Linked DNA regions of Homo sapiens: region 2 is linked to region 1. The links are contacts of gene promoters, found by promoter capture Hi-C in blood cells and fetal thymus (Javierre and others, 2016). All regions are on one chromosome and are shown on one strand. The core of a region is centred on a gene start or on the middle of the fragment in contact, and the rest is flanking DNA. Distances in the headings are between cores, read along the strand shown. Region 1 holds the start of NCEH1 (neutral cholesterol ester hydrolase 1). Region 2 has its middle 20 kb from the start of GHSR.

Region 1 (4,439 bases), core at 606-3,105:
GAGATTAACTTATGATGGAGAAGACTTCTTTGGTGACCTGAAAACTAAGAATAATCTCTGCAGCCAACACAGCAGTTTGATCTTTTTCCTGTTTTCCTCTGTTTAAGTTATTGTAGTAGACCATTAACCCACCCAGGTAAACATCACTGTTCCTCAATCTTTGAAGGGTATTACTTTCAAATTACATAATTTCATGGGGGAGGAGAGGGAATGCAAGGCTTCCTACAACAAGACTGACTTTCTTGACACCAGTGCTAAAGAAGGGGATGATCATTTTCACCATGTCAACATTATAGGAAGCAAGAGGAAAAGAAGGGGGGCAGGGGTCTATAGCTTCATAGACCTTTCCTAAGAGACAAAAGGGGCTTTGGAGGTGAGAATGTGGCTGAATTCAGGAAAAGCAAATCCACGCTAGGAATGTGCTGCAATATCCTAGTAAGGGGACTTTTCATAGGATAAAGCCCCACAGATTATGTAATCCTACACATAATGAGTGGACAGGGAACAGGAACATAAACCCTCTGGGAAAATCATGACTTTTTTAAAATCAGCTTTCTCAGGTTGAAATGATTTTTTTTCTCTTTCTCTAGTTGTCATTTCTGAAAGAAAGAGTTTATAAAAATATTCTGAGATTAAAGCCCAAGGTTGTGGGGAGGGAGGAGGCTTGGTTTTGGAGAAGGTTAGAGTTTAGATAGAGCAGGCTGCTCAGAAATACTGTCCAATCAGAGGGCTCAGCCTTGGCTGCAGACTGTAGTTTAGATTTTAGATTCTCTGACACTAAAAATAATGCCTCTTACCATGGAATAAACCAGAGACAGTTATATTTTCCTGTGTATGGAAGGAATGAACACACGCCCATGATACAGTGGAGAGAAATGTTACCCTCCCAGGTTAAGGCAGGTAACCTCGCTCAGGAAAAGGTTATCTGACAGCCAAGGACATAAAATAAATGCTGCAGGGCAAGCAGAAAACATGCATCATGCAAACCAGGGCTGCCGCCTCCTCACCTCCTTTCAGCCAGCCCAGCCTCCCAGTCCTCTTTCTTGGGCTGAGCTGAGATCTGCCTCGGGTGAAACGAGAGATCCCTATGGTTCCTCAAGTGCTTGGATGGAGAGCCCTGCCTGCTGTCTCCGGGAACGGAGCGCTCCACAGCCTGGGGACATTGCGAGACTGCCCTTGCCTGCTTCTGCTTCTAAGGTGGCTGCATTCCCAGGAACCAGAGCCTGCTTTTCCCGAGCTCTCCTAAAAATATTTATCCTCTGCCGGTCCCTATGGGAGAACGACAGTGTGAAGAAGGGTGGTTTATAAACTGCTTAAGGATTTGCCTTTTGACGTTGCAAACCAAGGAAGAGGAAGATATTTAGGACAGACGAAGGTTTAAACAGTTGTCAAATTCTATTCAAGCACTTCTTCCCCGTCACAAACGCAGACGGGGAAATGCAGATCTAGCCCGCTGCTAGCAAGGAGGCGAATGCGATACCCTGAAAATTCCCGACTGGACCACCTCAAAAAGCGACAGCCTCAATGCATTAGGAAAAACCTGCGTTTTCGTGGAACCCGGCGGAGGAATTTTGTATCCCCTTCAAATATTGCGTAAGAGGAGGAAGAGAGAAGCAGCGCTGGGCTGCACCTCACCACTTGCTGTGCACCCCGGAAAGTGGCGTCCAGCAGCATCAGCTTCCAGGGGTCGGACACGGAGCCAGGCAGCGGGATGTAGACGTAATAGGCGGCCAGCGCCACCAGGGCGGTGAGCAGGACACAGGACGACCTCATCTTGCCCTGGCTCGGCTCGCCAGCGGGCTGGCAAAGAGGAAAGGGCGATACCACCCGGAGACCTCCGGCAACTTTCTGCCCGCGGCAGCTGCTCATTCACGCGTTTCTTATAAGCCCAGGAGCCAATCAGAGGCTGCGTCGGGAGGAAGTTGGAGCGCGGACATGCCCCCTCTACGGTGTCCTTGCAAAGTGTGGCAGTCACTACAGGTTTGAGGAAGGCTCTGTCGCTGCTCTGGCCGTAGGCACAGCGGACTCTGGAGGACACTGGTTTGTACTGCATGCGTGTGAGGATGGCTTTCCTCCTGGAAGGTCTCAAACGGAAAATAGTTTCAGTGTGACGAGTCTCTGGACAAAGCAAGTGGGTCATTCTGACTCAGAGTACTGAGAAAGGATATAAAAATTCTGTTTTCTGGAGCCAGACTTGGAGTGGTTTGTAAGTTCTAGCTGATATATGGCAAAAGAAGATATTAAATTCTTCTGGCTCAAGCAATGAAAGGCCAGTAGTACATCTAGCACCCAAGTCTTGGTTTCTAAATCCTATGCTCCAATAAGAGGAACCACGGCTTTTTGACACAACCTCTGGAGAAAAGGCTGATACCAGGGCTGGGGCTGTAAAGTACAAGATGAACCTGTTGTGCCAGAGATGCGGAAGTGCTCAAAAAATGATAGGAACTGGTCAAAGGTCCACAGCTGCCAGCTTGAAGGGTCTCCCAGTGGCTGAAGCTGGGATAATTTTACCATCAATATAAATCATCATAATGGATAACCCATTGATTAAAATAAAACTCAACAATCTATATTAATATAAATAAATGAGGAAAGAAGAAAGGCTTTTCTTAAAATAGAATGCCAGCTAGTATCCATAGAAAATCATAAATGAATGCTAAAACTAGAGGGTAAAAATTTGACACAGAATTTTGGTCCTTCATCAGAAGATCTCTCCACAAATTACTACAAAGGGAAAAAATAATAACTTTTTATTGGAGAAACGTGTGGATATCACCTGAAAAATTCTTTCAGTGAGTCAATGGTAGCAGAAATACACTTAAACCCAGATTTCTTGTTAATGATTGGGGGTGAGGAGGGGTGGGTGAGTACTGAATGGGAGAGAGAAAACTTCACTAGCAAAATTTCAACCAGAAATCCAGAAGGAAAACAGTTAGAAGACCTGTTTCAAGAAAGTGGTAGGATGACAACTCCAAACTTATTGATGAAGGTCTTAAAACACCTAGTATATATAATTATGCATCTTAAGATGGTAATTTTAATTTAATCAAATTAATAGAAGTGAAATAACCATAAATTTGGTTCTGATAATGAGATTTTTAGGAAACAGTTGGCTTCTTCTTCAACATTGAAGGAAAACTGATAAGAAGGGCACACTTTCATGGTATTTCAAGCAAGTTCTCTCTCTCTTTTTTTTTTGTTTTGTTTGTTTTTGGTGTTTGTTTTTTGTTTTTTTTGAGACGGAGTCTTGCTCTTTTCGCCCAGGCTAGAGTGCAATGGCACGATCTCAGCTCACTGCAACCTCCACCTCCTGGGTTCAAGCAATTCTCTTGCCTCAGCCTCCTCAGTAGGTGGGATTACAGGTGCCCACCACCACACCTGGCTGATTTTTGTATTTTTAGTAGAGATGGGGTTTCACCATGCTGGCCAGGCTGGTCTCAAACTCCTGACCTTGTGATCTGCCCACCTCAGTCTCCCAAAGTGCTGGGATTACAGGCATGATCCACGGCACCTGGCCTCTCTCTCTCTCTCTCTCTCTCTCTCTCTCTCTCTCTCTCTCTCTCTCTGTCTTTTAAGTTACTGGTTAAACTCATAACTCTAAACAGATAGGAATGTTTATGTTTATGTTTGTGTGTGAGTATATGTGTAGAAAATTAGAAGCTATTCTTTTTTTTTTTGAGATAGAGCATCGCTCTTGTCACCCAGGCTGGAGTGCAATGGTGCAATCTTGGCTCACTGCAACCTCTGCCTCCCGGGTTCAAGCCATTCTGCCTCAGCCTCCCGAGTAGCTGGGATTTCAGATGCCTGCCACTAAGCCCAGCTAATTTTGTATTTTTAGTAGAGACAGGGTTTCACCGTGTTGGCCAGGCTGGTCTTGAACTCCTGACTTCAGGTGATCCACCTGCCTCAGCCTCCAAAAGTGCTGGGATTACAGGTGTGAACTACCACGCCCAGCCAGAAGCTAATCTTTATGGGTGATTAGGAATAATCCTGGAGATATAAACCAAGCTGACTACTGGATTTAGTTACATTACTTGCTTTCAGGAAATCTGCAAAATAAATCCAAGTTTTACCTTGTCGACAATACTTTTCTCTTAGATTTTGACTATATGTTCATAAAAACATAGATCTTAGAGCTAATGACAAAACCAAACCGAACCAAAAACAAACAAGCAAACAAATCCAAAAATCCCCACACCTAACTCAGCCTTCCCTCTTCCACCAGCAGTTAACACACTCGGTGTTATAGATGAGCCTCTTGAGGATTAGCGCAGCCAAATGGCTTACTCATATTCCTCTAGTTTGTAAGTGATAGTAGCAATATTTATTTCTGCCTCTCAGTGAAGTGTGGCTTCCCTTAAGCAGTACACTAAGAGATAGAAACTAAGAAAGAACAAAGAAACTGTAGTAATTCTCAGATCAGAAATCTGAGAGCCTCT
Region 2 (4,439 bases), core at 1,168-3,667, 240 kb before region 1:
GCTAAATGACGAGTTAATGGGTGCAGCACACCAACATGGCACATGTATACATATGTAACAAACCTGCACGTTGTGCACATGTACCCTAAAACTTAAAGTGTAATAATAATAAAAAAATAAATAAAATAAAATGAGAAAATAATAATAATAATAATAATAAAAGAAACAGTATTAACCGTCACACCACCTCTTGCCTCTGGCTTCTCCACCCAAGACCTAACCCCTGGAGTCCTGAAACATTTCCTGCTTTCAATTCCTGTAGTGCTCAGAGTTAGAACTTTTCAGTTTATTTCCCAATTATACACTGTTTCTGTGATTTTATACTTGTGAGTCACCTCTTCTATTACATTATAAGCTTCTTGAAGGTAGTTTAAATGTTTCATGGAAAGCCAGTCAGTTCACATAGGGTTCTAGTTACTTTTCACCATCTCTACCACCAATGCCTCCAAATCCCCCACTAGAACTGCTACAATACCCAAGGGACTGATCTCTCTCTGTCCACTGTTGTTCCACAATCTATTTGCCACCTGCAGCCAGTGATCTTTGGGAAATACAAATCTAATCCAGACATTCCCCTGCCTAAAACCTCATTGGATGCAGCTGTGTTCCAATAAAACTTTACTTACCAAAACTTGTGATGAGTCAGATTTGTTTGCTGACCTCTGATTTAGATTAGCTTAGATTAGCTAGAATTACAGAGGTAAGAGAAAATTGGTTTTTCCAATCACAGTGAAAACAAACCTACAATAAGAATTCTCACACCCTAGATGTTTACTAAGCCAATCTTCCTGTCAGTGATTGACTCAAGAATGAACTATGACTCACCTCTGGCCAGTATGGAGAGGAGGTATACTGAGGACATCTGGGAAAATTCCTCCCACTCTTAATAAGCAGCTGCTGGTCTGCCCCTGGCCACTGCCTGGAATGGCTGTGTGATATCTGAAATCACTACAGCCACCAGCCTGAGGATGAAGCTTAACTAAGGAAGGTAGAACCAAAAGATGGAAAGAGCCAAATCGACCAACCATGGATCATGCCCTGCCTTTGGACTTCCCGTGAAGGATCTCTTTTCTTACTGTGTAACCCCATCAGAAATGAGGTTTCTGTGAACTGAAGCTGAAAGTGTCCTAATTGATTCAATTTTATATCTCCCCAAATTTATTTTAGTTACAAATATACCAAACCACTGGTACCTCCATGTAGGGAATTTCTTGTTTCTTTTAAGAGACATCATCATGGTATTTTACCCTTCCCTGAAAAATCGTCAGGTGTTGAGGCTGCCATTTCAAATCAGGAAAAAGGGAATAGCATTGCCCAGTTATTTTTTAATATTCATGCTCTTACCCCAGAATAAATACCCTGGAAGCCCCAGCCCTGCATTTTTTTTTTTTTTTTTTTTTTTGAGACAGAGTCTCACTCTGTCGCCCAGGCTGGAGTGCAGTGGCGCGATTTCGGCTCACTGCAAGCTCCTCCTCCCAGGTTCACGCCGTTCTCCTGCCTCAGCCTCCCGAGTAGCTGAGACTACCGGCGCCCACCACGACGCCCGGCTGATTTTTTGTATTTTTTAGTAGAGACGGGGTTTCACCGGGTTAGCCAGGATGGTCTTAATCTCCTGACCTCGTGATCCGCCCCCCTCGGCTCCCCAAAGTGCTGGGATTACAGGTGTGAGTCACTGCTCCCGGCCGCCCCAGCCCTGCTTTTGGAACCAATTCTTTTTAGGCTCTTCCTCTGACTCAACATAGCAGACATTAGTGACCACCTATCCTGCAGCCATTCTGTCCACTCGTCTTTCCTGCAATCAGAACCTTGATTTTGTTCAGCTATCAGGATACTGCATACTTTAGAAAAGACTGAACCTTCCCCTAGCTCTAGGGAGGATAATCTTCATTAATCTAAGTCCAACATAGAAATTCTATTTTCCCTACCAGTGAATGATTTAAGAATGGGCATGTCTAGAATTCTGAACAGTGACTAGGGGAGAGTTTTTCTGTCTTAAAAGGGGATACAAGAGAGATTTTTTCTGTTGTAAAGTACTTGAAGCTGCTGCAGCCATCCTGCAAGCCAGAGTCAAAAGCTAACATGATGAGCAAAGCACAGCAGAAGAATGAAGAGAACCTGGGTCCTAAATGATGGGCAGGTGCCAATGACTTAACTAAGCCCAGAATCATGTTACCTTAGGCTTTTTATGCTATCTTTCTACGCCAACTGAGTTCAATGTTCTGTTCAATGCCACTGGAACCCTACCAACTGGAACATTCACTGATAAGTTGCTGTGGGCAAATTGCATCTGGGTTCCTCACTTGTCTATACAGGTTAAGAAGAAACAGGCGTGTTGGCGGGCGCCTGTAGTCCCAGATACTCGGGAGGCTGAGGCAGGAGAAAGGCGTGAACCCGGGAGGAGGAGCTTGCCGTGAGCCGAAATCGCGCCACTGCACTCCAGCCTGGGCGACAGAGCGAGACTCAGTCTCAAAAAAAAAAAAAAAGAAAAGAAAAAGGAAAAGAAACAGCATGATGTTTCTGCTGCACTGATCTCTCTCTGAGGTAGTATATATAGACTGTGTACTGGTAAATTATTTTATGGACTCTATGAAGACTGCATGGATATCGTCTTAAAATATTAGGCAAGCCTAATGAATAAGTCAGAATGTTTTATACACCTCAGGCAAATTAGAATTTGCCTATACTTTATATTACAGTCTACTAAATCAATCACTTTAAAATTGGCACCAGGGATTGTAGTAAGATCATCAGACCTTCTAATAAATTTAGAAAAATTATCACAAGATAATTTTGAGTTTTTGTTATCAGATTTTCAGGCAGTTTGTTGTTATTTAATTTAGGATTCTTTAATTATCAAAGCAAAACATGAGAACCAGTTTTACAGAAAACAATTTTGCCCTTATCACTTCATCTTCACATGTGGAAAATATTCAAAGTTTGTTTAAAAACCTCTGATGCAGCCAGGTGTGGTGGCTTACACCTGTAACCCCAGCACTTTGGGAGGCCAAGGTGGGCAGATCACTTGAGGTCAGGAATTCAAGACCAGCCTGGCCAATATGGTGAAACATTGTCTCTACTAAAAAAATTACCTGGGCATGGTGGCGCATGCCTGTAATCCCAGCTGAGGCAGGGAAATCACTTGAACCCAGGAGGTGGAGGTTGCAGTGAGCTGAGATTGTGCCACTGCACTCCAGCCTGGGTGACAGAGAGAGACTCCATCTCAAAAAAAAAACCCAAAAAAACAAAAAAACCTCTGATGCTCAGACAAATAACTAATGCATGCGGGGCTTAAAACCTGGGTGATAGGTTGATAGGTGCCGCAAACCACCACGGCACATGTATACCTATGTAACAAACCTGTACGTTCTGCACATGTATTCTAGAACTTAAACTAAAAAAAACAAAAACAAAAACAAAACAAACACACACACACACGCACACAAAAACCTTGGATGCTCTGTTTTTTTCCCTCTTGTATCATTAAAAATAAAATTCTTGTTTTTATTCTCTTTTGTTTGGACACATTTTAGAGCCTTCCAAATGTGGTGATTATAACTTTTTATTGAATTACTACAAAGAATGATAATAATAATTATTATCACATTAGTATAAAGAATACAGAAAATCTTTGTCTCTATAATATCCCAAGGAATGACAAATTGTCAACATTTCTTTTAGTGGTAATTCATGGAAAATTAAAGAAAATATGGTATATTTTTATATTTATTTAGTTTAGTTTTTAAGTGAAACATTCTGCAGAATGGCACAAAAAATTGTGAACTTTTAGAGTTAAAAAGAATAATTCATTCTTACCAAGATTATGTAAAAGTATCAATTCTCTTGCCCTATATTTTTTTAAGGAAAGCTTCTTCTGGAAAGGATTAGCAGAATAATGAAAGAGAGGACTTAGGTATAATCTTCCTAATGAAGTCAATATTCACCTCCAAATACAAGTAATGTTTATACTAATTTTCTTTTTGAAGTTTGTGTCAGTATTACATGGGAGAGGAAGATGAACTCATATAGACTTTTGACTCTTCCATTAGTCCACATCCATTATGCATCGTATTCTCTTGTCTATTGTGTTCAAAAAATTTAAATGAAAATTTTAAATAGAGAAGGGAGGAAGTGACTAGGCTTTCTCTAATATCCCTGTCATGAATATGTCACTCACCTCAAAATATGTCACTGAAAGTACTACAAAATTGCCATAATAAGCTAGTTACTGCTTTTCTTATCTCCAAGTTCCTTGCCCATTCAAAGCTCTACAGGAAAAAAAAGTACTCCTCAATAATACATTCACCATTCACTATGAATAATACACAGTGAACATTTATGTAATGTAGGTTTTAAAAACTCTCACATATATTATTTCTTTGATTCTACCAATAATTCTGTGAAGAACATAAAACACTTAAAACATAAAAGAGGATTCCTAG

The links. The method cuts DNA at HindIII sites, captures the fragments that hold promoters and counts their contacts. A CHiCAGO score of 5 or more calls a contact.
Region 2: a contact is called between a fragment that was not itself captured here and the fragment with the promoter of NCEH1 in region 1, in 1 of 17 cell types (total B cells). The highest score is 6.4, in total B cells.

What each region holds. Positions count from the first base shown.
Region 1 is chr3:172,709,212-172,713,650 of GRCh38, forward strand. It overlaps NCEH1 (neutral cholesterol ester hydrolase 1), which reads right to left and starts at 1,856. Exons shown (of 5, transcript NM_020792.6): 1 at 1,636-1,856. The coding sequence starts at 1,773. RefSeq lists enhancers at 1,308-2,507, 1,637-1,906, 1,828-2,122, 2,167-2,306. The HindIII fragment of the contact is 17,687 bases long and covers 1-4,439 here.
Region 2 is chr3:172,466,605-172,471,043 of GRCh38, forward strand. No RefSeq gene overlaps it. Among named protein-coding and RNA genes, the nearest start is that of GHSR, 20 kb to the left of the region's middle. RefSeq lists a silencer at 721-921. The HindIII fragment of the contact is 2,891 bases long and covers 973-3,863 here.